Regions from separate parts of the Homo sapiens genome. Here regions 2, 3, 4, 5 and 6 are each linked to region 1. Evidence: promoter capture Hi-C in human tissues and cell types (Jung and others, 2019). All regions are on one chromosome and are shown on one strand. Each heading gives the region's core, a stretch centred on a gene start or on the middle of the fragment in contact. The rest is flanking DNA. Distances are from core to core; before and after follow the strand shown.

Region 1 (4,304 bases), core at 549-3,048:
GTTGCTTTCCCAGCCCATCCATTTTCCTTAATTCCTTGCCTATGGATAAGTAAAAGAGGCACACAGGGCCCAGCGCGGTGGCTCACGCCTGTAATCCCAGCATTTTGGGAGGCCAAGGCGGGCAGATCATGAGGTCAGGAGATCGAGACCATCCTGGCTAACATGGTGAGACCCCATCTCTACTAAAAATACAAAAAATTAGCTGGGTGTGGTGGCGGGTGCCTGTAATCCCAGCTACTCGGGAGGCTGAGGCAGGAGAATCGCTTGAACCTGGGGGGCAGAGGTTGCAGTGAGCCGAGATCGTGCCACTGCACTCCAGCCTGGTGACAGAGCAACACTCTGTAAAGAAGCAGACAGTGCAGAGAAGGATGAACTCTTGGCATGAGTGAAGTGTAATATCGGCAATCTGTTTGTGTACCCTTCTTTTTTTTTTTTTTTTTTTTTTTTTTTGAGACAGGGTCTCACTCTGTTGCCCAGGCTGGAGTGTAGTGACCCAATCTCGGCTCACTGCAACTTTCACTTCCCGGGTTCAAGTTATTCTCATGCCTACAAGTGGCTGGGATTACAGGCGCCCACCACCACGCCTGGCTAATTTTTGTATTTTTAGTAGAGACAGGGTTTCACCATGTTGGCCAGGCTGGTCTCGAACTCCTGACCTCAAGTGATCCGCCGGTCTTGGCCTCCCAAAGTGCTGGGATTACAGGTGCGAGCCACTGTGCCCGGCCTCGTGTATCCTTTTAATGAGGCCGAGCGGTGACAAGACTGTGGATGGCATTGGGGCCAGGGACCAGAACAGGGAGAGCCTGGGAGGAACCCCTCCAGCCCCCCGCAAAGCTCAAGCACCGGATACTAAAGAAGAATGGTAGATGGGGCCTCACGATGTGCAGGGGGAAGGGAACTGGCTTAACTGGATGGTCCCCTGTCCGAGCACTGGGCTAGGCCTTTTGTGTGCATAGTATCGTCTGCTGTTACCAAGAAATTAGTTATGCTTATCATCTGCATTTTACAGAAGAGGAGAACAAGGCTCAGAGAGGTTGATGACACCTGCCCAAGTTACCCAGATGGTAGGTGGCAGAGCTGGGATTTGAGATTCAGATAAGGCCTGGGACGCTCCCTGGCTGCCCACCGAGAGCAGGAATTTCTGTAGCATCTAGAAAGGCAGGAAGGTGAAAGAGGGGACAAGAGCTGGAGGGGGAGCAAATGGGTCCTACCTGAGACTTACCATCATCAGGTGCTGCCAGACCTGGCTTCTCTTCTATTCTGAGAACTGATATCCTGTGGCTGACTTACCAGGGTCGTCCTAGTCCCCCCGCACGGTATTGGGAGTGGAGGCAGCCCCACACGGAGGCGCTGGGAGACTTTCCTCCCAGCAGTGTCCTGTCACTGCATTCCGGCCCCTGCGTTTGTAGGCAGTGATGTCACAGAGTGCCTTCATGCTCCTCGGGTCTCCGGTTCTCCCCGGACCTCTGTAGTCCTCATTGCCAAAGTTGTACCCCCTGGGGAGTGCACCCTGCCTGCATTTCTGGAGGTTCGGGCGGTTCCGGGGCTCTGCAGGAGCCTCCAGGCGTGATAAAGAGCGCTGCCGGCACTCCCGGGGTCTCGGCCTCTTTGGGGCCCATTGCCAAGCCCCTTCCCTCCTCGTGCTCCCGCTCCGCGTTGCAGCGTCCCCTTCGCCGCCAGGGGCCGCCCGGAAGCGGGGCTCCCCCAGGGCGGGGCGGGGCAAGGGGCGGGGCGCGGCGGTACCTGGGCCGCCAGGGAGCCGGGGGTGGGCTCTCCGGGGACAGCCGGCAGCGCCCCCAGATCTGCACCGCCAGCCGCCGGGAGCTCCGGGCTCCGGGCGTAGAGGCTGCGCTGTCACATGGGCGGCGGCGACGGGGCCGCATTTAAGCGGCCGGGGGACGGCGCCCGCCTCCAGCGCGTCCTCGGGCTTGGCTCCCGCCGGGAGCCCCGTTCTCTGCCCGCCGGGGGCCCCGCGCCGCGCCGCACCGCGCCGCCCCCGCCGGGCCATGCGAGCGCGGGCCCCGCCGCGATGAGCTCGCACATCGCCAAAAGCGAGTCCAAGACGTCGCTGCTGAAGGCGGCGGCGGCGGCGGCGAGCGGGGGCAGCCGGGCTCCCCGCCACGGCCCTGCCCGGGACCCGGGGCTGCCTAGCCGCCGGCTACCCGGCTCCTGCCCGGCGACGCCGCAGTCGTCCGGGGACCCCAGTTCGCGGAGGCCCCTGTGCCGGCCGGCGCCGCGAGAGGAGGGCGCGCGGGGGAGCCAGCGTGTGCTCCCCCAGGCGCACTGCAGGCCCCGGGAGGCGCTGCCGGCCGCGGCGTCCCGACCTTCGCCGTCGTCGCCGCTGCCGCCGGCCCGCGGGCGGGATGGGGAGGAACGGGGACTGTCCCCGGCGCTCGGCCTCCGGGGCTCTCTGCGAGCCCGGGGCCGCGGGGACTCCGTTCCAGCCGCCGCGTCCGAGGCGGACCCGTTCCTCCACCGGCTGCGCCCCATGCTCAGCTCCGCCTTTGGCCAGGTAAGGGCCGCGCCTCCCGTCAGCGCTCCCGGGAAAGGCGCTCGGGACCCTGCCGGCCGCGGTTGCGCGTCCACAGCCTCCTCCCGCGGCCCGTGGTCCCCCACGGATCACGCCTCGGCTCACCTCGTCCTCCCCGGGCCGGCGCCCTTGCCGGCACTCCTCCTCCCCGTGCCTGATTCAGCACCCCGTGCGCTGTCCACGCTCCGGGCCTCTTGGGGCAAGGCCCTCCCCGCTAGCCTCCCTCATACCCGCCAGAACCCGCCAGTCCTGGAAGAGAGCGACCTCTACGACCGTCCTGGAGATTTGCGGGGGTCAAGGAGGGGCGCTCCGAGCAGGTGGCGCCAAACCCACTCCTCTGGCCTCTGGCCAGTACCGCCAGGGAGGGACTCAGGAGAGCAAGCGGTTTGGAGTCTGGGGGTCAAGAGAGGGGACCTCAGAGAACACAGAATTACTTGAGGGCGAGGGACACTGGCCACTGCCTATCATGTCCCTGAAGGCCTGAGAAAAGTTAGGAGATCCAAAAATATGAGGAAAGAGAAGAGGTGTCTGGGTAGGCATGGAGGGGCATGCAGAGCTGTGGCTCAAACTGGAACTTTGGGGTGGTTTAAGGAGGCTGTCACTCTAGGGATGCCATTGGAAGGGTGAGAAAGGCCACAAAGAGGTCATCAGTGGTTCCCTCAGGCCTTTCCCTCAAGAGTCCCAGGCACCTGGGAGCCTGCCCTTTAAAAGCAGCTCCGTAGTCACAATATAGGTCTACAGTTTGAGGCTGTGCTGCTGGGGAAACAGGCTCAGTAGAAGGAAACCTCTGAACTCCTGAGCAAAAAAGCCAGGGTTTCCCCTAGTTCGGAGTCTGTAATCAAGTCAAACTCATTGGCACAGCTTTGAGACAGTTCTGTGGCAGCCTCCGAGAGGTGTCATGCAGAGGTCTGATTAGAGCGTTTGCGTGGTTTGTAGGGAAACAGGGGGGGCTGTGCCTTTCTGTGCTGAGATCTAGCATAAAGAAGCTGTTTCAAGCTCCTGGCTTGCCACGCCGGATCAGAATTCCAAGGAGGCCCTGTGTGTTTTGCTTCAGATCTGCACATTTCTTTTCAAAATACTACTCGGCAGTGGCTGATGCTGGTGGAGGTCTGACATGAAGGCAGCCGCACATGGATTTGGGTTGCGTGGTGCTGCTGTGGTGGGGCCATAGGGCAGTGGTGTGTGGCTTTGTTCCTGCAGGGAGCCCTCGTTAGCCGAGTTAGCTGGAAACAGTTCTCTGGAGTAGAGATGTGGATGCAGAGCCGTGAGAGTTAGTGAGGCGATGTGTCAGGGGAGTTCACTGCAGTGCTTTGTGTTAATGAGGAGGTGTAGGCTGCCAGGGCACGAGTGGTCTTTGGATTGGGGCTGGGTTGCAGCAGGAATGCTGGGTTGTTGAATGGGTGATACCAATTCATTCATTTATCAATTATTTCTTGAGCATTTATTAAGGAAACCTTCAGGGGTTTCCTTAGTTCCTGTGGTTTGTTTGTTCAGACATTTGCTAGACACCAGGAAGACAACAGTGAACCAGATAGCCAGGGCCCTGGCTGTACCTAGCAGTTTGGAAGGGTAGGTCATTGGCCTAGAATCATACACTTTCTGGTTACTCAGTTTGCAGCTGATCTGACTCAGCTCCTGAAAAAAAAAAAAAAAAAGAGTCCTTTCTTTCCTGTCTTGCAGAATTTGCCTACATGAGCCCTTTCTGAGCTCCGAGCATTGTAGCGACGTGCTTTTGTTTCTCCTTCTAATTTCTCAGTCATTAAGTGAATTCTCC
Region 2 (4,304 bases), core at 1,116-3,615, 490 kb after region 1:
ACAACAAACAGGCCGGGTGTAGTGGCTCACGCCTGTAATCCCAACACTTTGGTAGGCTAAGGCGGGCAGATCGCTTGTGACCAGGAGTTCGAGACCAACCTAGCCAACATGGTGAAACCCCATCTCTACTAAAAACACAAAAATCAGCTGAGCGTGCGCATGGCTGTAATTGCAGATACTCATGAGGCTGAGGCACAAGAATCGCTTGAACCCAGGAGGCAGGGGTTGCAGTGACCCAAAGTCTTGCCACTGCACTACAGCCTGGGCAACAGGGGGAGACTCCATCTCAAAAAAACAAAAAAAAAAAAAAAAAAAAAAAAAGAAAGAAAGAAAAGAGAAAGAAAGAAAGACAAGAAAATAGATGTCTTTGAGTGGTAGCAAGAGCAACACTGAAGTGATTTGCCTATTCTGGACATTTCCTATAAATGGAGTCGTAAAAGATGTATCCTTTTGTGTCTGGCCTCTTTCACTTAAGCGTAGTGTTTTCAAGGTTCATCCATGTTGGAGCATGGGTCAGTGTTTCATTCCTTTTTATGGCTGAATAATATTCCCTTGTATGGGCTTTCGTGCTTTTGTGTATCCATCCATCAGCTGATGGACATTTGACTTGTCTGCCTGTTCACTGCCATATCTACTATTCCTGGTGCTCTTGGGAATGAGTGAATGAATAGCATAAACAGAGCTGTCCAGGGTCACAGAGCTGGTAAGATGTGAAGCCAGGATCGGAAGCCAGGCCATTAGTCCCCTAGAGCCTATGTTCTAAGCATCAGGCTTTACCTGTGAATCTCCTCTTTTTACAGATGAAGATGACCGTATCACTCAGATTCCCGGCAGGAAAGCAATGGCATACTCAAGTGGGGTAACTAATGATGGAACCATTTACAAAGGTGTGGACAGAGTTAAGAAAAAGCAATAGGAGATAGTGAGCTTCCTGGGGCTGGTAAGAGTGGGGAGCCCTTACCACTCCCAGGACTAAAGGAGGGAGTGGTGCCCAGAAGCCCTGCCTATATGCAACTGAGAAGGGCAGGGCCAGGGAGTCACGTCCATCCTCACTGCTCTCCAGTCTCCTGAACTGGAAGCCAGAAGGTGAGGGGAACCCTGATGCAGTTTGTATGTGTGAGAAAGTACAATTAGTTTAGACTGAAAAACTGAAAATCTACCCGGCCACTTAGCAGGCTGGAATAACAGAAAGGGATCAAGCCAGCTGTAAAGATAACAGGGAACAATAATTCTCTGTAGCTGTAAAGTGATAATACAACCCTGCATCTTTGAGTGACTGCTGAAACATTGTCCTTTAAAATCAGAGACCTTCAGAAACTTTGCTGTTTGAAATTACATGACTAAGACTGAAATATTCCAATTTTGCCTGGAAGATTTAAGTCATCTTGACACAGAGAAGCAGCCTCAATTTACAACTCAGGAGCAGAGCTTCAGATAAAGATTTTCTGGACACATTTGACATGTATCTTAGCTATGTTGCTTCCTAGGAAACAGGGCCCTGGGTCCTCTTTGCAATCCAGACTGAAGTTGACTGCTTTGTACAAACCTGTTTTGCTTTGAGTCCATCAAAACATGACTTCATTTAGATTTTATCTCAACTCCACTTTCCTCGGAATCCTATAATAAATTGCTGTTTTCCTTTGTTTGGTGATGTGCGTAGCTCTTCTGGTGGGTGGTGTCCCTCACTGAATAGGTCAACAAACCTAACTTTGTTGGACTGCCACTGTGTCCCTGGTGATCTTTGGCTGATTGGTCTAGGTCATAGATCGACCTGCCGGGGTGCAGAGGAGGGTGGAGAGTAACTCAGAGGGTCAAGCATGAAAGATCTGGCAGAAAAATAAAGCCCCTCCACCCCCACCACCCCTACCCCTGCAAATCTGATTTCCCCCACCAACTGCAGACCAGAGTATTATAAGGGGCGGTGGAAGAAGAGGGGGAGATCTTCATTTACCCAGAGCTCCTATACATCAGGGGCTGAATAAAGGGTTGTAGAAATGAATGAATCAATCTCTGAGTGGGGCTTCAGGCAATGGAAAGATCTCAGTCCTTTTCTGAGGCATAATGGAAGCTCCCAGTCTTGTGACATTTGCAAGGCTGCCCCTTTCTCCCAAGAGACATGAGACCAAAAAAGTGAAAGGAAAGGGGGGAAAAGGGAGAATTCTAAAAATGCCCATCCTCTGAACACCATCTTTGTGTAGGCATCTGGGGGAGGCCAGCTGGGGTGAGGTCATCTGCCAGCCAGGCCCGTAGGACTTGGCGCTTCTTGTTTATCACAGCCACATGTGGGGCCACTGCCAGGGCCCGCCCCAACTCTGCAGTCATTGGAGGAGCTTGAAGTTAAAGACTCCTGCTAAAAACCAGTACGTTTCATTTTGCAGTTACTGGGAGGGGGCTTGCTGTGGCCCTGTCAGGAAGAGTAGAGCTCTGGTCCAGCTCCGCGCAGGGAGGGAGGCTGTCACCATGCCGGCCTGCTGCAGCTGCAGTGATGTTTTCCAGTATGAGACGAACAAAGTCACTCGGATCCAGAGCATGAATTATGGCACCATTAAGTGGTTCTTCCACGTGATCATCTTTTCCTACGTTTGGTAAGTGGGATCTGGGGAGGACCCAGATCTCTGCAGTGGCCGACAGCACAGAAAGCCCCAGCGGGCAGCTTCAGGTGCACATTCTGAATCTCACATGGTTTTCGAATCTGAGACGTGCTCTCACAGCCAGCTGGGCGGGAGGGAGGAAGCAGCAGCAGGCAAGAGGAAACGGTGCCAGGCTGCAGCAGAGAGAAGCCACAGGACAAGCGGGATTCCTTTCTGCTCTACTTCAGGCCCGCCAGGGCGCGCAGGGCAGGGCGTGCCTGGGGAAGGTAGGAAAGCGCAGGGCAACACCCTGGATCCCCAGGGAGGAGGCGAGGATCTCAGGGCACGCCTGGTGATCATGCTGGCATCTGAGTCACCATGCTTGGGAGGAATAGGACCAGGCTTGAAAATGTGTTATAACTTTAGGTCCTCACCAACGTCAGGAAGGCCCTGCTTTTTGGTTTTTGTTTCTTCTAAAAGAAACTTACTGAGATATAATTTATACACCATACAATTGACCCATTTAAAGGGTACCATTTAATGATTTTCAGATTATTCCCAGAGTTGTGCAACCATCCCCACAATCAATTTTAGAATATTTTAATCGACTCAAAAGGAATCCCACACTCCTTCACCATCATTTCCAACACTGTTCCTCCTCCTTCCCACCCATCAATTTCCTTTCTGCCTCTATGGATTTGCCGATTCTGGACATTTCATATAAATGGAATCACATAATATGTGGTCCTTTGTGGCACTTAGCGTGTTTTCAATGCTCATCCATGTTGTAGCATGTGTTGATACTTCATTCAATTTTTTTTTTTAAAGAGACGGGGTCTCACTATTTTGTCCAGGCTGGTCTCAAACTCCTGGACTCAAGTGATCTGCCTGCCTCGGCCTCCCAAAGTGTCAGGATTACAGGCGTGAGCCATTGCACCCGGCTGATACTTCATTCCTTTTTACGGCTGAGTAGTACTCCATTGCATGGATAGACCACTTTTTTCTATCCATTCATCCATTGATGGACATTGGGGTTGTTTCTCTTTTTTGGCTATCATGAATAATGCCACATGAACATTTGTGTACAAGGTTTTATGTGGATATATATTCTCCTTTCTCTCGAATATGTACCTAAGAGTAAAAATTGCTAGGTCATATGTTAACTATGTTTCACCTTTGGGGGGAATGTGGAGCTGAATTTCACAGCAGCTGCAGTTTTTTACATTCCTATCAGCAGAGTATGAGGGATCCAATTTCTCCACATCCTCACCAACGCTTGTTATCGTCTGTCTTTTTGGGTTTTGTTGTTGTCATTTTGTTTTTGTCTTTGAGATGAAGTCTTGCTCTGTTGCCCAGGCTGGAGTGCAGTGGCGCAATCTTGGCTCACTGCAACCTCCACCTCCCCGGTTCAAGCGATTCTCCTGCCTCAGCCTCATGAGTAGCTGGGATTACAGGTGTGCGTCACCACTCCTCACTAATTTTTGTATTTTTAGTAGAGATGAGGTTTCGCCATGTAGGCCAGGCTGGTCTCAAACTCCTGACCTCAAGTGATCCGCCCACCTTGGCCTCCCAAAGTGCTGGGATTACAGGCATGAGCCGCCACGCCCGGCTGATTGTCTGTCTTTTTTATTATAGCCATGCTAGTGGGTGTGAAGTGGTAGTTCATTGTGGTTGTGATTTGAATTTCCCTGATGGTGAGTGCCTCTTATTCTCTGTGCTGATTGATAATGATGA
Region 3 (4,304 bases), core at 890-3,389, 460 kb after region 1:
GAGGCAGAGGTCGCAGTGAGCCAAGATGGCACCACTGCACTCCAGCCTGGGCGACAGAGCGAGACTCCACATCAAGAAAAATAAATAAATAAATAAATAAATAAATACTGCATGATCTCACTTATATGTGGAATCTAAACTAACCAAACTCATAGAAGCAGAGAGTAGAGTAGAATAGTCGTTGCCAGGGACTGAGGGTTGGAGAAAACGGGGTGTTGTTTAATGGGTATAAAGTGTCAGTTATACAAGATGAGTAAGTTCTGGAGATGTAACGTACAGCGTGTAACAACACTCTGTTGTATACCTGAAATTTCTTAAGAGAGTAGATCTTAAGATCCTTAACCACCCCACCTCCAAAAAAGAAAGAAAGTGGTAACAATGTAAGATGGTGGGTGTTTTAGTTTGCGGTGATCATTTCACAATGTGTATTAAATATCCGGTTGCCCACTTTAAATATATACAATGTTTACTTTTCAAGCATATTCAGATAAAGCTGGGGGAAAACAAACAGCTTTCTGGGGCCATTGTTTGCAGACCCCTGAGTTAGGGCATTGTGTGATGGCTGGGTCAATTTCACTTCAGCATGGTAAGAGGCACGTGACAAAAACTGGCATGAAAGGGGCTGTTGGAACCAAGGGGCAGGAAAGGGCTGCCCTATAGGATCCGCCAGAAGACAGACCGGCATTTCACGAAGTGAGCAAATTCCGGAGGAAATAAAGGATTTCCGTTTTAAGGGGTTGGGAGGCAAGAGAAAAGGCTGAGAGGGTGTGTGTGTCTGAAATGGGGTCTCTGGGTGAGAAAACGTGTGAGATAAAGTGCGAGGCTGGAAAAACGCGCACGTGTGCAGGAGGCGGGGATCTGCTGCACCGAGTGTGCACATTTGCACGAACCGTGGGGGCGTCTGCGGCTGTGGGTGGAGAGGAAATCCTGGATCACACATCTGAGAGAGGGGGTGTGGGTGGGAGTGGGAGAGTATGTAAGAGCGTGGGTCGTGACAGGTGAGGGACTTGTGTGTGCAACTGTGCGTCCTGCGAGAGTGAGGAGGTCTCGGACTGAGGAACTGCGTTCAGTGCTCAGTGGTGAGTTCCCACGCAAGAGCCTGGGGAGTCAACCAGAAAGACCCGCACGCGGGGCGGGCCCAGCGACCTCGGGCGCCATCTGCTGATTACCAGACGCCACTACCTGAGAAAGGCCCCTCCAGTCTCCTCATTGCCCAGCTGCGGACCCTAAGCTGAGCCATAACCGTCCTACCAACCCACGTCAGCAGAAGAGCCCAGTGGGAGGGCGTGTGTTCACTTCTGCTCCTCTGGGCAAAGACGCCCAGGTCAGAAACACCCACCCGACCCTCCCACTACCCAGAGACAGCCCCACCTGCACAGCTCAGAGCAGGACCACTGACCCTCTGGCTCTCCGGTCATATTTGCTATTGAAGACCAGAATAAAGTATTTTTATCAGGATTGAATACATGACTCATGAATGAATAAATTCATTCTCCTTACATATCGGTTCCTATTGAGAAATATGGTGGCTAGAATTTATTTCCTCCGGAAAGAGGAATAAATGTGGAGCCCCTGGGTTTGGTGCTATTTATTACCCATTTCTCTGATGTTGTAAGAAAAGAGAGATTCAGAAGAAATATCACATTTCAGCCCCGAACTTACGTAGCTTGCTGCCGTTCTAGGTGATTTACTTAGATTGGCTTCTGCATTTTGACAAATGAGGAAATTGGGAGAATTAAAGCCTCTGGTTTTAAAGCCTGCTGCTGGGTCAAGTAGAACTGTGACTTTTATTTTTTTTTTTTTAGACAGAGTCTTGCTCTGTTGCCCAGGCTGGAGTGCAGTGGCACAATCTCAGCTCACTGCAACCTCCACCTCCCGGGCTCCCTCAGCGATTCTCCTGCCTCAGCCTCCCAAGCAGCTGGAACTACAGATGCCCACCACCACGCACGGCTAATTTTTGCATTTTTAGTAGAGGTGGAGTTTCACCGTGTTGGCCAGGCTGGTCTCAAACTCCTGACCTCAAATGACCCACCCACCTCAGCCTTCCGAAGTGCTGGGATTACAGGTGTGAGCCACCGTGCCCGGCCCAGAACTATGACATTTTGTTTTTGTTTTTCTCTGTTTCTTTGAAAAGAAATGGAGTGAAGGTGCAGAGATATGAGATAAATTATTTAAACACATTATTATTATTGTTGTTATTATTATTATTATTATTATTATTATTATTGAGTCGGAATTTCACTCTTGTTGCCCAGGCTCGAGTGCAATGGCATGATCTCAGCTCACTGCAACCTCCACCTCATGGGTTCAAGTTATTCTCTTGCCTCAGCCTCCCAAGTAGCTGGGATTACAGGCATGCGCCACCACGTCGGGGTATTTTTTTTTTTTTTTTTTTTTTTTAGTAGAGATGGGTTTCTCCATGTTGGTCAGGCTGGTCTCGAACTCCTGACCTCAGATGATCCACCCACCTCGGCCTCCCAAAGTGCTGGGATTACAGGCGTGAGCCACCGCACCCTGCCTTAAACACGTTATTAAATCAGTAAAATGAAGGGCCTGACAAATAAATGACCACTGAGCTAGGATGTAGAAGACCAAGGCCTGGAAGAAGGGGAGTCTGCCTCTTCTGTCACTGGTGAGCTACGACCTTCCCTGCAGGCACACCCTACGCTGTCCTTCAGGCTGGCTCTCCATGCCCTCGGGGGCCTCGGTCCAAACATCTGGACAAAGGCCCTATGAAAGGACCTCTAACAAAATATTTTCCACCATATTCAGCTAGAGTTGCATGTTTTTCTATTTTTCCTAATGAGAACATAGGACTTGAGAACTGATCATGTGTCTTCGCTTTAATTTGAAATGATCAGAATAATCTGAAAAAAACAGAACTATTGTCCAGGAAATGAGAGAGAACTGAATTCAGTCACTTAAATATATAATCAAATCCCTTCCCCAGCCTTCCCCCACATGTGCTGGTTTTTTCATTCTCACTCTTCAAACTGATCACCTATTAATCATCTAAAACCACAACAAAATGCTTTTGAAAACTTTTTAAAAAGAAGTGCATCTCATTTTATGTAAGTTGTGATGTAAGAAAAATAGTAAGATTATAAAAATATTTTTTACTTTTGATACAGTGACTAGCAAAGGTAAAAAAAAAAAAAAAACATAGGACATCGAAGGGTCAATTCATTGTCTGGGAAGAGGTTTTGGATTTATTTACCAAGCTTCTAAACATGGATCTTCCTAATCATAGAGAAAAAGCCCTTTCAAAGCAGTTGTTGTAGGCCGGGTGCAGTGGCTCAGGCCTGTAATCCCAACACTTTGGGAGGCTGAGGTGGGTGGATCACCTGAGGTCAGGAGTTTGAGACCGGCATGGCCAACATGGTGAAACTCCATCTCTATTAAAAATACAAAAATAGATTGTGGTGGTGTACGCCTGTAGTCCCAACTACTCTGGAGGCTGAGGCGGGAGAATAGCTTGAGCCTGGGAGGTGAAGGTTGCAGTGATCGCGCCACTGCACTCCAGCTTGGGCGACAGAGACTCCATCTCAAAAGAAAAAAGTGTGGTCTAGTGAGGGTGATTTTAAACTGATTAGGTTTAATTCATTTCCTTGATCTAAATATGAAGTGTTTTTACTCTGTGAGCAGAAAGTTTTTGAAACTAGTTCATGAAGGTGAGTCCAGTGGTATTTTTCTTTTTTACTTCTCAGCCTTCTACGAAAGGCAAATATAAGACAGCAAAATCCAAAGAATGGAGTTATTAAGGCTGCAAGTGGAGTCCGAGGCCAGTTCCATGCCAGGCATGGTGCGTGCACTGAGAGACAGGGATCCTCTGCTCCAGGAGCCGAAGGCACATGCTGTTTTGCTTACTACTGAACTCTACTACACATTTAAAGAAGAACCATTACCAATCCTACTCAAACTCTTCCAAAAAACTAAAGAGGAGGGAACACTTCCAAACTCACTTTACAAGGCCACCATTACCCTGATACCCAAACCAGACAAGAACACAACAACAAAAAAAAGAAAACTACAGGCCAATATTCCCGATGAACATAGAGCCAAAATCCTCAACAAGATACTAGCAAACTGAATCTAACAGCACATCAAAAAGACCATTCACCATGATTGTTGATGGCTGATGCAAGACCTCAGTTCTTGTCTTCTTAGTTTAAGAAAATTTAAACAGACTCACAGCAAAGGAGATGCAACATAGAGTAATTTATTGCAAAAGAAAAAGACTATTTTGGGCTAGGTGCAGTGGCTCACACCTGTAATCCCAGCACTTTGGGAGGCCGAGGTAGGCA
Region 4 (4,304 bases), core at 845-3,344, 400 kb after region 1:
GCTGGGAGTCAGGGGTCCTAATTCTAGTCTTGCCTTTGCCACCAACTCGCTGTGTGACCTTGGGGTATCTCTCACCCTCTCTGTGCCTCGGTTTACTTAATTTTTTAAGTGAGTCATTGGTGAGACTGTCTGATTCTCCAAAGTCTTTCTAGCTCCGACCCTCTTGAATTTTGATCTTAGCTAGCACAGGCGGTGGCATGAAACAGCTGGAGGAAGGGCTTGGGGGAAAATCTCAGTGAGGGGGGCTTGGGTCCCTTGAGTCAAGTTCAAATCCCAGCTTCAACACTGTGTGACCTTGGGCAAGTCACCTCACCTCTCTGAGCCTCCATTAAAAAATCATTTTAGGCCGAGTGCAGTGGCTCACTGTAATCCCAGCACTTTGGGAGGCCGAGGAGGGCAGATCATGAGGTCAGGAGATCGAGACCATCCTAGCCAACACGGTGAAACCCTGTCTCTACTAAAATACAAAAAATTAGCCGGGCGTGGTGGTGGGCGCTGTCGTCCCAGCTACTTGGGAGGCTGAGGCAGGGGAATTGCTTGAACCTGGGAGGCAGAGGTTGCAGTGAGCTGAGATCGTGCCACTGCACTCCAGCCTGGTGACAGAGCAAGACTCTGTCTCAAAAAAAAAAAAACAAAAACAAAAATCATTTTATTGGCCGGCCAGACATGGTGGCTCACACCTGTAATCCCAGCACTTTGGGAGGCCAAGGTGGGCATATTCTTGATCCCAGGAGTTCGAGACCAGCATGGGCAACATTGGTGAAACCCTATCTCTACAAAAAATACAAAAATTAGCTGAGCATGGTGGTGCATGCCTGTAATCCCAAGCTATTTAGGAGGCTGAGGATCACCTGAGCTCAGGGAGATTGAGGCTACAGTGAGTGGTGATTGTGCCACTGCACTCCAGCCTGGGTGACAGAGCGAGACCCTGTCTCTAAAAAAAAAAAAAGTCATTTTATTATCAAAAAGTTAAAACACATAGAAAAATAGATGATACAACTAACACTCATATACCCAACTAGTTGATTCAACAAGTCTAAATTCCTGGCTACATGTGCTTAATCTAAGCCACGTTAAAGTAAATTATAGGCACCAAGGAACTTTGTCCCTAAAATACTTCAGTGTTCGTGTCCAAACAAAAGACAACCTTCTGATAACCACAAAACTACTGTTACACCTAACAAAATCAACAATGATTTCCCATATCAGATATATGTACTATCTGATATCTAGGCCAGTTGTCCCCAAACTATATTTTACAGATGGTTCATTCACACTAGGATCCAACCAAGGACCTCGCATTGTATTGGTTCTGAGCCTCCATTTGCTAATCTGTAAACTGGGCAAAGAATAGTACCTATCTCACAGAGTGCAAGAATTAGAGATAGTGTATGTTAAGAGGTTAGTCCAGTGAGCCCCCAAATGTGAGCTATTATTACTAGACTCATTCTACTCAAGGCAGTGGTGCAGTGGGGTGTAGACAGCTAGGTGGGATGGGGTATTCTGAGATGTCATCAGCATGGGCTAGGGATAAGGAGGACAGGGGTCCCCAGCATCCCCAGGGACGTGGACTCTGATACTGGGTTTTGTCTTGCGTGGGGGCTGGAGGAGCCCAGTCTTACCTTGACTACCTTCAGCACCCGCACATCCTGGTCCAGCCCACGCTTCCCCTGGAAATGCTCCTGCCTCAGAAACTCCTCCACGGTCCGCACAGCGTCTAGCACCTCTTCCTTCCACTCCCGGTGGGGCTGCAGCCACTGAGCCACGAAGGAGTCCAGCCTGGAGGCTGGTGTGCTATACAGTTCCTGCATCAGTGCCATCTCTGTCCCGAGAGTACCGCTGCTGGGCAGATATATAGCCAGGCTCCTACCCAGCTCCCTGGCACACACCTCCTTTTTTAAGGTAGCTCCTCCTCAGCTGCCCTCCAGTGCTCTGTGGGAGGAGGGACCCTAGCAGAGAGGAAACCAGGTGTGACGGGCTGACTCCAGGTCCCCCTTCTTGGAGACACCCTTGCTGCAGTAGGGGCACAGGAGGACTCTGGGCTGAGGCTGGAATATCTGGGGCCACCTTAACAGGCTGGCCGTCTAGTCAATCTGTCATCAGTTTCGATTCTCAACTTTTAGAGTTCTCCTTTATGACGTTGGGAAACTGAAGTTGGATAGTGTTTGACCCCAAAGGAGGCAACTTGCCCAGTAGGTTGGGGTTGGATAGTTGTTAGTCAATTCAACTGCTTACATCTGTCTAAGGAAATTGAGGCTTGGGAACGGAAGGGACTCACTAGTGTTCAGGTGGTGGAGTGAGAATCTGGAGCCCAAGAGAACAGACTGGGAATTCTAGTCTACCTGTGCCAGACTCTAACCTCTTTGACCCTCACTATTCATAGAGTGGGTTTTTTTGTTTTTTTGTTTTTTTTTTTTTTTGGCCGGGTCTTGCTCTGTTGCCCAGGCTGGAGTGCAGTGGTGCAATCTCAGCTCACTACAACCTCTGCCTCACGGGTTCAAGCGATTCTCCTGCCTCAGCCTCCCTAGTAGCTGGGACTACAGACATGTGCCACCACGCCCGGCTAATTTTTTTTTTGTATTTTTAGTAGAGACGGGGGTCTCACCATTTTGGTCAGGCTGGTCTCAAACTCCTGACCTCAAATGATCCGCCCACCTCGGCCTCCCACAGTGCTAGGATTACAGCGTGAGCCACCGCGCCCGGCCCATAGAGTGGGTTTAACAGGTATTATGATTCACGCACTGAACCAAGAAGTTCATGCATTGAGCCAAGAAGACAAAATAAGATGAGGTTCCTGTTCCAAGGGGACTCCCAGAACGGTGGAGGAGACACAGAAAAAAGAGACTGCAAAAGTCCAGTGCGATGAGTTAAGTAGGAAAAAAGCATGAAAACATGAAGCCGGCAGATGAGTTTCATTTGGTGTTAGCAGACACCTGCTTGAGAGGAATCTTAAAGACTGGGGATCCGGGCTGGGCATGGTGGCTCATGCTTGTAGTCCCAGCACTTTGGGAGGCCAAGGTGAGAGGATCACTTGAGGCCAGGAGTTCAAGACCAGCCTGGGCAACATAGCTGGACACCTGCAACTTCCCAAACTCTGAATAATATTAAGTGCTCCAGGGCTTAGTCCTGGGTCCTTTTCTCTTCTTGTTCTAGACTTACTCCCTTGGTGATTTCAGCCAGCGTTTAAATGTTTTTACTCTGGCAACTTCCACATTTTAATTTTATTTTTATTTATTTGTTTATTTTTGAGATGGAGTCTCACTGTCTCGCCCAGGCTGGAGTTCAGTGACACAATCTCGGCTCACTGCAACCTCTGCCTCCCAGGTTCAGGCGATTCTTGTGCCTCAGCCTCCCAAGGAGCTGGGATTACAGGAGCCCGCCACCGCGCCTGGCTAACTTTTTGTATTTTTAGTAGGGACAGTGTTTCACCATGTTGCCCAGGCTGGTCTTGAACTCCTGATCTGCCCTCCTCGGCCTCCCAAAGTGCTGGGATTACAGGCGTGAGCCACCATACCCAGTGACTCCCACATTTGTATCTTAAATCCATACCTCTTCCCTGAAATCCAGACTCATGTATCCAACTCCCCACTCCACATTGGCTTTGAATTCCGGTCTGCCCTTTGCCACACTTGTAACTTCTCTGCTTCTGTGGTGAGGATGATTGCAAGGGCAAGAACAGATGTAGGGAGATGGTCAGGACACTGCACAGTGGTGCAGGTGAGAGGCAGTGGTGGCCTGGAGTTTAAAACTCCAGTTTTTGTTTTAAAAACAAAAAGTTTTTTAAAAAATAGCTAGGTGTGGTGGTGTCCACCTGTAGCCCCAGCTACTTGGGAGGCTGAGGTGGGAGGACCACTTGAGTCTAGGAGTTTCAGGCTGCAGTGAACTATCATGGTGCCACTGCACTCCAGCCTGGGTGACAGCATGAGACTCTGTCTCCAAATAAAAAATAAAAAAGACTGGCACTCCAGCCAGGAGGATGAGGGTACAGCATAGAGGCTGAGAAGTATAAATAATGCTAGGATATGCCAGGGACTCAAGTGTGCTGTGTGCCTTGGGATGAAAGGGTGAGCAGGGGAGAGGTTAGAAATGTACCTGGACAGGTGGGCAGGATTGAATCTTGGAGTGCTATTCACTCATTCGTTCACTCATTCAACAGATACTTACTGGGCACCTACTCTGTGCCAGGCAGGTGCTGTGGATACAACAGTGAACAAACAGTAGTGAAAAATCCCTACCTGCAGATAGTTTTCTTTCTGGTAGTGGAGACAAACAACAAATAGGATAAATAGGTAAAATTATAGTAA
Region 5 (4,304 bases), core at 1,170-3,669, 290 kb after region 1:
GGCGACCAGGAATGAGGCACCTTGGTGGAAGTGGAGGGTGGAAGATGGAGGAACATCCTAAAGGATGGCTAAAGCTGGGAGAGAACACAGGGGAGAAATGAAAATAAAACAATGCTATAAAGGGGCTGGCGTGGTGGCTCACGCCTGTAATCCCAGCACTTTGGGAAGCCGAAGAGGGCAGATTGCCTGGACTGAGGAGTTCAAGGCCAGCCTGGGCAACGTGATGAAAACCTTCCTCTACTAAAAACACAAAAAATTAGGCCAGGCTCGGTCGCTCACGCCTGTAATCCCAGCACCTTGGGAGGCCGAGGTGGGCGGATCACCTGAGGTCGGGAGTTTGAGACCAGCCTGACCAACATGGAGAAACCCCATCTCTACTAAAAAAATACAAAATTAGCTGGGCATGGTGGCACATGCCTGTAATCCCAGCTACTTGGGAGGCTGAGGCAGGAGAATCGCTTGAACCCAGGAGGCAGAGCTTTCGGTGAGCCGAGGTGGTGCCATTGCACTCCAGCCTGGGCAACAAGAGCGAAACTCCACCTCAAAAAAAAAAAAAAAAAAAAAATTAGCCGGGCGTGGTGGCAGCATGCAGCTGTAGTCCAAACTACTCGGGAGGCTGAGGCATAAGAATTGCTTTAACCTGGGAAGTGGAGATTGCAGTGAGCAGAGATCATGCCACTGCACTCCAGCCTAGGCAACAGAGCAAGATTGTCTCAAAAAAAAAAAAAAAAAAAGGGTGCAACGGAAGTGAAGTCACAGAGGAGAAAATGCTGTCCTAACTTAGGGCTGGACAGTTCTTTTTAGAGCTGGGGTTGACCGGGCAGGGTCAGGTTTATGAGAGGACACTGAAGCCACGCGTAGAAGAGGCGTGTGGACTCTGCCAGCTGTCAGCACACCGGGCTGTCACGATGCACTCAGGTTCCAATAATGTGCTGAGAATGCAGGAAAGGCAGCTCAGGGCTTTATAGACTCGCTGCCCCCAGTCCATCCAGAGGCCCAGAGAGGCCAAGCTACTCACCCAAGGACACACAGGCCTTGAAATCTGATACTTTCTGAATCCCAGCACTGCATGGCCTTTGCGTTCTGTGAGTGGCTCACACTGGGGAGCTGGTGACACCCTGACATGGGCTCCATACTTGCTGCTCCTTCTGCTTTTCTTCCAGTGGCACACTTGAGGGATGCAGGGACTCACATAGGACCAATTCCTGCCCCACTGTGTCCCCTAAGTAACCCACATCCAAAATATATCCCGAATTCAGCCATTTTCCTTCTTAGGTCAATTCATTCCTTCTCTCTCTCTCTTTCTCTCTCTCTCCTCTGTCAGAGAGACAGGGTCTTGCTCTGTCACCCAGGCTGGAGTGCAGTGATGTGGTACAATCATAGCTCACTGCAGCCTTGAATTTCTGAGCTCAAGCAATCCTCTTGCCTCAGCCTCCCAACTAGTTGAACTACAGGCATGTGCCACTGCATCCAGCCAAGTTTTTTTTGTTTTTGTTTTTAGTAGAGACAAAGTCTCGTCATGTTGCCCAGGCTGGTCTCAAACCCCTGGGGTCAAGCAATCCTCCTGCCTTGGCCTCCCAAAGTGCTGGGATTACAGGCTTGAGCCATGGCGCTGCCACCGCCTACTCCTCCTCCTCCTCCTCCTCTTCCTCTTCTTCTTCCTCTTCTTTTTTTTTTTTTTTGAGTTGTACAAGAAAATGAGAGGCCAAAGGCCCGTGATTTACAGGCAGCCTGGTGGAGGAGAAGTGGTGTGTAGTGCTGTTACATGGTCTCTAGGGCCATATACTCCGGTTTGAGTTTCTAGTTCTTTGACTATATGACTGTGGCTAAGCAATGAAGCTTTCTAGACCTGCGTTCTCATTCATTAAATAGGAATGATAACACCTCATAAGTATCTAAATGAGATACTGTAGGTAAGTGTACATCATAGAATTTTAAATCTGGTAAGTGTGTGGTAGGCTGAATAATAACCCCTAAAAGATGTCCAGGTCCTGCCGGGAGCAGGCTCACACCTGTAATCCCAGCACTTTGGGAAGCCAAGGTGGCGGGATCACCTGAGGTTGGGAGTTCAAGACCAGCCTGACCAACATGGAGAAACCCCCTCTCTACTAAAAATACAAAATCAGCTGGCCGTGGTGGCACATGCCTGTAATCCCAGCTACTCAGGAAGCTGAGGCAGGAGAATTTCTTGAACCCGTGAGGTGGAGGTTGCGTTGAGCCAAGATCGCGCCATTGCACTCCAGCCTGCGCAACAAGAGCAAAACTCTGTCTCAAAAAAAAAAAAAAGATGTCCATGTCCTAATCTCTAGAACTCTAGAACCTATGATTATAGGAAAGGAGACTTTGTAGATGCATCAAATTAATATTTTTGAGATGAGGAGATTATCCTGGATTATCTAGCCCAATATAATCACACAGGTCCTTGGAAGAGGTGGGCACACCAGAGTGAGCGGTAGCAGATTTGACGATGGAAACAAGAGGTTGTAGTGATCGATGAAGGGAATGTGAGCCAAGGAATGCAGGTGGTCCTCTAGAAGATGAAAAAGGCAAGGACACATTCTTCCCTCAGAGCCCTCACAGGGAACTAGCCCTATAAAACCGATGTCAGATTCATGACCTCCGCAACTATGAGAATAAGCTTGTGTAAAGTCAATATTTGTGGTAATTTCTACAGCAGCAGTAGGAAACTAATATAGGATGTTACTCACATTTATTCATTTGTTTACTTATTTATGAGACAAAGTCTCGCTCTGTTCAGGCTGGAGTGCGGTGGTGTGATCTCGGCTCACTGCAACCTCCGCTTCTCAGGTTCAAGTGATTCTTCTGCCTCAGCCTCCCAAGTAGCTGGGATTACAAGTGTGCACCACTACAGCTGGCTCATTTTTATATTTTTAGTAGAGATGGGGTTTCACTATGTTGGCCAGGCTGGTCTTGAACTCTTGGTCTCAAGTGATCTGCCTGCCTCAGCCTCCCAAAGTGCCAGGATTACAGGCATGAGCCACCGTGCCCAGCCTCTTCTTCTTTTCTTCTTCCTTCTCCTCCTCCTTTTTTGATTGAGATATAGTTCACAAACTATAAAATTCACCCTTTTAAAGTGTGCAATTCAGTGGTTTTTAGTGTAGCTATCAACTTGCCCAACCACTTTCATAATCTACTTCCAAACCATTTTTATCTTCCCCAAAGAAACCCCACACCCATTCACCGTCATTCCCCATTCTCTCACCACCCCCAACCTCAAGCCCTTGTCAACATCTAATCTAATTTCTATCTCTATGGAGATGCCTATTCTGGACATTGCATATAAATGGAATCATACGATTTACAGTCTTCTGTGTCTGGCTTCTTTCACTCTGCAGAATGTTTTCAAGGTTCATCCATGTTGCAGTGTGTCAGTACTGCATTCCTCTTTTTTTTTTTTTTTTTTTTTTTTTTTTTTGAGACAGACTCTTGCTCTGTTGCCCAGGCTGGAGTGCAGTGGCACGATCTCAGCTCACTGCAACCTCCGCCTCCTAGGCTTAAGCAATTCTCATGCTTCAGCCTCCCGAGTAGCTGGGATTACAGGCCTGTGCCACCACACCCGGCTAATGTTTGTATTTTTAGTAGAGATGAGATTTTACCAGGTTGGCCAGGCTGATCTTGAACTCCTGGCCTCAAGTGATCCACCCACATTGGCCTCCCAAAGTGCTGGGATTACAGGCATGAGCCACTGTGCCCAGCTGCATTGCTTGTTATGGTCAGAATGATTCTATTGTACAGATAGGCCACATTCTGTTCCCTCGGTGGATGGACATTTGGGTTGTTTCCACTTTTGAACTACTATAAAGCTGCTATGAGCTTTCATATATAAGTTTTTGTGTGAACATGGTTACTGCTTGCCTGGATGAGACCGTTAACCTCCTCACTGGACTCTCAGCCTCTGCCCTTAACCCACACAGGGTCCATCCTCCTCACAGCAGCCAGAGGAGTCCTTTGAAAGTCAGGTCATGTCATTCCTGTGTTCTAAACCACCAGTGGCTCCCCAGTGCCCTGAGGATAAAGTTGAAGACCCAGCACAATCTCCACCCCAGCTCCAGCCCCACTTCTTCTTCACTGGCTGGCTCTCAGTTCCTCAAATGAGCAATCCTCCTTCCTGCCTCCCTCCCTCTGCAAGTGCCGGCCTTCTGCTTGGAATGCTTCTCCGGCTCCTTATTCCCTTCTGCCTTTAACTCCTCTTCATCCTTCAGGTCTCCAGGGAAAATCAGGGTTCAGGGAGGCCTTCTTTCTCTCTCTCTCTCTCTCTCTTTTTTTTTTTTTTTTGAGACAGC
Region 6 (4,304 bases), core at 716-3,215, 260 kb after region 1:
CTAAAACCATTCCTTATTTTCTGATATTACCCATTTCTTAGATGTTTCTCTAGGATAATTATAATTAATGTAGTAAGATCTGTGGCACTTCACAGTTTGCCAAGTGCTTTCTAAATGTACTCACTTAATCCTTACAGGCTGTGGAAAAGGTAATTCCCTCTATTTTATAGGTAAGGAAAAAGGACCGAAGAACTCACTACCATGTCGTATCAACAAAGCAAGTTGGTGGCAAACCGGACCTCCGAAATAGGTCTTCCAACTCCACACGGCATGCTCGTCCCATTCTATTATGCTCTTTTCTAAGAAGGGAATGTCTACAGTTCTGTCCCAAACCACATTTGCTTCAAGAGTAAACCATCTTCAAACCATTTCTCTAAATTGCAATCAGGTCCCCCACTCCTACGATCATGCCATTTCTTGCTTCCTCACTCTCCAGCTATGACTTCCTTCTCACTACCCGATTTCCACTCTTCATGGATACTGCCATCATTCCTTCAACCCGTCCTGCAAATATCCCACCTCTACATGCTAAAGGGAGACCCCTCATGTTCCTTCCCCCAAACCCTGGCACTCCCTTCTCCGGATATGTAGGTTGTCACCCCATAAACTACACAGTAGCTTCTCGCTTCTCGGCCCTTAACGAGCTACTTACTAACTTTAAAAGCCCCACAGAAATGAACTTAACTTGCAGGTCCTCCACCTCCACACTTGGCCCTGGGCGCCATTCCTCTGAAAATAATAGTACCAACCCTTACAAAGACTCTGCCCATGCCCCACTGTCACCAACGAATTCCTTTTCCAGAAGGAAAAGGAAACAGGTTCTTCAGGCTCCTCTTCCAACCTCTTCACCAGTGACTCCCCTCCAAGGTTCGTGGACTCTACCCCCGCAGTTTTCCTCCCCTCACTCCCGGGCCTCTGCCCACCTCACCAACTCTCCCTGCGCTCCCTGTCCCAGAGCCAAGCGGCGGCCGCTCCACTCTCCCAACTTAGAAGTTCTGCCTCTATCACCTGTTCTCACTAGAGCTTCCTCTCAGCCCAGCGGCCCACCTTTGCCCTGGCCTGCCTCTCTCCACCCCTTCGAGTCCTCCTGCCCAGGAAACACCCCCACGAGTCAGTTCCGGGGTGCCTGTCGGATTCAACTTCCCATCCGTGGGATTCCCACCCCCGGGGTCATGCTCCCCTTCTCCATCACCTGCTCCGCCCATAGCCAGATGACATCCGCCGCTGCCTCCTCCTCCATTCCCCTTCTCGGACGCCAGGTCCCCGGCCACTCACCGCCCTCCGTGCGCGCCAGCCGCCCCCTCCGGTGGGGAAGAGGGGGGCGTGCACCCCAACCCGCGCCCCCCCCCCACGACACGCACCTGTTCTTCCTCCTCTTCCCCTCGGCGGGCCGCGCCGGCGCCCCGACCCCCACCCTTGCCGCCTCCCGGCCTCCCGGAGCCCCGCACTCACCACGAGTAGGTCTGCTCCGCCATGGCGCTGCCTCTCGTGGGCTCCGCTGCAGGCTGTGGCCGGGCCCGGCGGCGGCGGGCTCGCTCGGGCCGTAGCTGAAGGCGCGGCCGGGGTCCGGTGCTTGCTTGCTTGCTCGCTCGCTGGCTCGCTGGCTGCACGGCGGGCCGGGAAGGCGGCTGGCGGGGAGAGGCCGGGCTCCGAAGCGGCCCCGCTCCCTGGGCCCCGGGGCGGGGCGGGCTCCGCTCTCGGCCTCCCTCACCCGCGGCGGCGGCGGCGGCTCCGCTGCAGCTCCAAACCCAACATGGCGGCGGCGGCGGCGCGGAGAACAAGGGGGCCCTGGGGCGGGCGAACGGCAAGACGGGCCCGCGCTCACTGCGCGCGGGGCCGCGGGAGCGCCGCGCTCGGGCGGCGGCGGCGGCGGCCGGGGGACATGGCCGGCGGGCGGAGGCGGCGGCGACTGAGGGGGGCGCTAGGCGATGAGGCGAGGCCACTCGATCACACCCGCCGAGGGGAGGAGGGGCGGGGGCGGGGGCGAGCCTTGGCCCCGCGCGGGTCACGTGCCCAAAACACGCTCACGTGATGCGCGCCCCGCCCCTCGAGCCGGGCCCATGCGCAGAGACGTCGGCTCCTGGGTTCTAGGCGGCTGCTGCTCGCACAGCCAGAGCAGTTGGGCCGCCTCCCGCTGCCTGGTGCCGCCCCCCTCCCCACGCGGAGATGTCGCCTCGGGTACCCTCTTCCGCCCCTCTCCGAGGGGCTGCTGCACCAGCCAATCGGGAACCCCGATGCGCGTCTGTTGGCTGCCACTCAGCTGTCAACCGTCAGTCAACAGTCTGCTGGCCACGGGCCCCCCAACTGTCAGTCAACCTGTCAGTCAACAGGCAGAGGGCTGCATTCCTTCGTTCGTATGTTCCTTGGTTCATTCATTCAGGTAGCAAATATTCCAGGCAGCCAACCTTTATTGCGCCCAGGCCCGGCACCAAGTCGAATACCCCACGCTTGCCTTCACAGAATCAATCAACAGATATTTGTTGGGTGCCAACCATGTGTCAACTCACTCTGCCTTCCTAGAGCTTACATTCTAAAGGAAGAGACATAGTCCAAGCCCACAAATAAGATAATTTCAGATGCTGCTAAGTTTTACAAAAACACATTTTGTAACACAAGGTGAGGGGACAGAGAGTGAGCAGAGGTGTGGGTTACTTTAGATAGGGTGGTCAAGGAAGGCCTCGCTTAGGAGGTGACATTTGAGCTGATATTGAATGATGACAGAGAGCTGGCCTTGCAAAGATCCACAGGAAAAGAGTTCCTGGCAGAGGGAACAGCAAGGGCAGAAGGCTCAGGAAACCGTCCATTTGGAGGTCTGGAAACCGGCACAGAAATAAACACGGTAGAGCTAGACCAGAGACCAACAAAGTGAATCTGGAGCTTAGATGGAGAGAGAAGAGAGAGATTAATTGAGGCCCCAGGTACTGCGGAATGCTTCCCCAGGAGTGGATGAGGCCGTCTGAAAGGGTGAGAGGCTTATCAAAGAAAAGTCATTCTTTTGGCCGGGCGCGGTGGCTCACGCCTGTAGTCCCAGCACTTTGGGAGGCCGAGGTGGGTGGATCATGAGGTCAGGAGATCGGGACCATCCTGGTTAACACGGTGAAACCCTGTCTCTACTAAAAATACAAAAAATTAGCCGGGCGTGGTGGTGGACGCCTGTAATCCCAGCTACTCAGGAGGTTGAGGCAGGAGAATGGCGTGAACCCCGGAGGCAGAGCTTGCAGTGAGCCGAGATTGCGCCACTGCACTCCAGCCTGGGCAACAGCGAGACTCTGTCTCAAAAAAAAAAAAAGAAAAAGAAAAAGAAAAAGAAAAAAAAAAAAGAAAAGGCATTCTAGAAAGAAAGAATGGCATGAAGTAAGGCCCAATTCCTGGTGAGCTTGAATCCGAGAGTGGGATGGGTGATTTGTGCTGGAGTGTTGAGAAAATATACTGAGAAGGTGCACTGAGGCCAGACTTTGAGGGCCCAGCTAAGCCTCCTTGCCAGTTACTGTGTTCATGAATAAAAATGATTAACCAGTGCAGCTTCAGAATTTAGAAACATGCCTGGGCAACAGATACACTAACCCTCCTGGACACCCCTCCACCCCCACCCTTCACCCCCCTGTTTCTCTGCAGAAGGCAAAACTCACACACCTGAAACCAACGTACTCAAGCTTCTCTGCAGCTTGCCCAACTTTAGGCCAGAATTTAGCTCTGCTCCAGTTTCCCAGGGCCTGCCCAGGCTTACAGGGAACACCACACCCTGAATCTATCTCCAAATGGATCAGTTGGCCATTGCCCATACATCTGCCGCTTGCCTGTTCCCCAAGGGAAACCCTTTAAAGAGAAAGCCAAGTACACTTTCCCTTCAGAAGCAAAGCTCTCCTTCCTTATTCCCCCACTGCCAGGTGCCAGGACCAGTTAGGTTCCAAGTGTTTCCTCCAAAGCTCTATCAGAGAGCCCTGGGAAAAGGCTCACTGATGAGATTGAGGTCCAGGCCGGGCGCGATGGCTCACGCCTGTAATCCCAGCACTTTGGGAGGCCAAGGCAGGTGGATCATGAGGTCAAGAGGTCGTGACTATCCTGGCCAACATGGTGAAACCCCATCTCTACTAAAAATACAAACATTCGCTGGACGTGGTGACCCATGCCTATAGTCCCAGCTACTTGGGAGGCCTGAGGCAGTAGAATCGCTTGAACCGGGGAGTGGAGGTTGCAGTGGACCTAGATCACGCCACTGCACTCCAGCCTGGCGACAGAGTGAGACTCCGTCTCAAAAAAAAAAAAAAAAAAAAAAGATCGAGGTCCAGGGGAGGGTTTGAGGC

What was found. The method cuts DNA at HindIII sites, captures the fragments that hold promoters and counts their contacts. A contact is called where the count stands out against the background at its distance.
Region 2: the fragment with the promoter of P2RX7 here is called in contact with the fragment with the promoter of CABP1 in region 1 in 5 of the 25 tissues and cell types used here (adrenal gland, bladder, dorsolateral prefrontal cortex and 2 more).
Region 3: a contact is called between a fragment that was not itself captured here and the fragment with the promoter of CABP1 in region 1, in 4 of the 25 tissues and cell types used here (H1 embryonic stem cells, adrenal gland, lymphoblastoid cells and 1 more).
Region 4: a contact is called between the fragment with the promoter of OASL here and the fragment with the promoter of CABP1 in region 1, in 1 of the 25 tissues and cell types used here (neural progenitor cells).
Region 5: a contact is called between a fragment that was not itself captured here and the fragment with the promoter of CABP1 in region 1, in 4 of the 25 tissues and cell types used here (aorta, dorsolateral prefrontal cortex, lymphoblastoid cells and 1 more).
Region 6: the fragment with the promoter of SPPL3 here is called in contact with the fragment with the promoter of CABP1 in region 1 in 3 of the 25 tissues and cell types used here (pancreas, small bowel and stomach).

The regions. Positions count from the first base shown.
Region 1 is chr12:120,638,828-120,643,131 of GRCh38, forward strand. It overlaps CABP1 (calcium binding protein 1), which reads left to right and starts at 1,799. Exons shown (of 6, transcript NM_001033677.2): 1 at 1,799-2,512. The coding sequence starts at 1,859. It overlaps CABP1-DT (CABP1 divergent transcript), which reads right to left and starts at 1,695. Exons shown (of 2, transcript NR_183426.1): 1 at 1,223-1,695. RefSeq lists an enhancer at 1-187 and silencers at 1,659-1,958, 2,179-2,278, 2,289-2,458, 2,679-2,778. The HindIII fragment of the contact is 37,846 bases long and covers 1-4,304 here.
Region 2 is chr12:121,130,511-121,134,814 of GRCh38, forward strand. P2RX7 (purinergic receptor P2X 7) reads left to right here and starts at 2,366. Exons shown (of 13, transcript NM_002562.6): 1 at 2,366-2,585. The coding sequence starts at 2,461. All of the region lies in intron 2 of LOC105370032 (a long non-coding RNA gene), which reads right to left. The HindIII fragment of the contact is 21,026 bases long and covers 1-4,304 here.
Region 3 is chr12:121,094,967-121,099,270 of GRCh38, forward strand. No RefSeq gene overlaps it. Among named protein-coding and RNA genes, the nearest start is that of P2RX7, 36 kb to the right of the region's middle. The HindIII fragment of the contact is 6,899 bases long and covers 1-4,304 here.
Region 4 is chr12:121,037,152-121,041,455 of GRCh38, forward strand. It overlaps OASL (2'-5'-oligoadenylate synthetase like), which reads right to left and starts at 2,095. Exons shown (of 6, transcript NM_003733.4): 1 at 1,623-2,095. The coding sequence starts at 1,820. RefSeq lists enhancers at 1,259-1,760, 1,761-2,260, 1,840-2,259. The HindIII fragment of the contact is 11,669 bases long and covers 1-2,167 here.
Region 5 is chr12:120,932,308-120,936,611 of GRCh38, forward strand. No RefSeq gene overlaps it. Among named protein-coding and RNA genes, the nearest start is that of XLOC_009911, 30 kb to the left of the region's middle. The HindIII fragment of the contact is 5,842 bases long and covers 1-4,304 here.
Region 6 is chr12:120,902,393-120,906,696 of GRCh38, forward strand. It overlaps SPPL3 (signal peptide peptidase like 3), which reads right to left and starts at 1,966. Exons shown (of 11, transcript NM_139015.5): 1 at 1,453-1,966. The coding sequence starts at 1,475. It overlaps XLOC_009911 (a long non-coding RNA gene), which reads left to right and starts at 2,303. Exons shown (of 2, transcript NR_131215.1): 1 at 2,303-2,380. RefSeq lists silencers at 1,316-1,365, 1,506-1,725, 1,806-2,165. The HindIII fragment of the contact is 15,749 bases long and covers 1-4,303 here.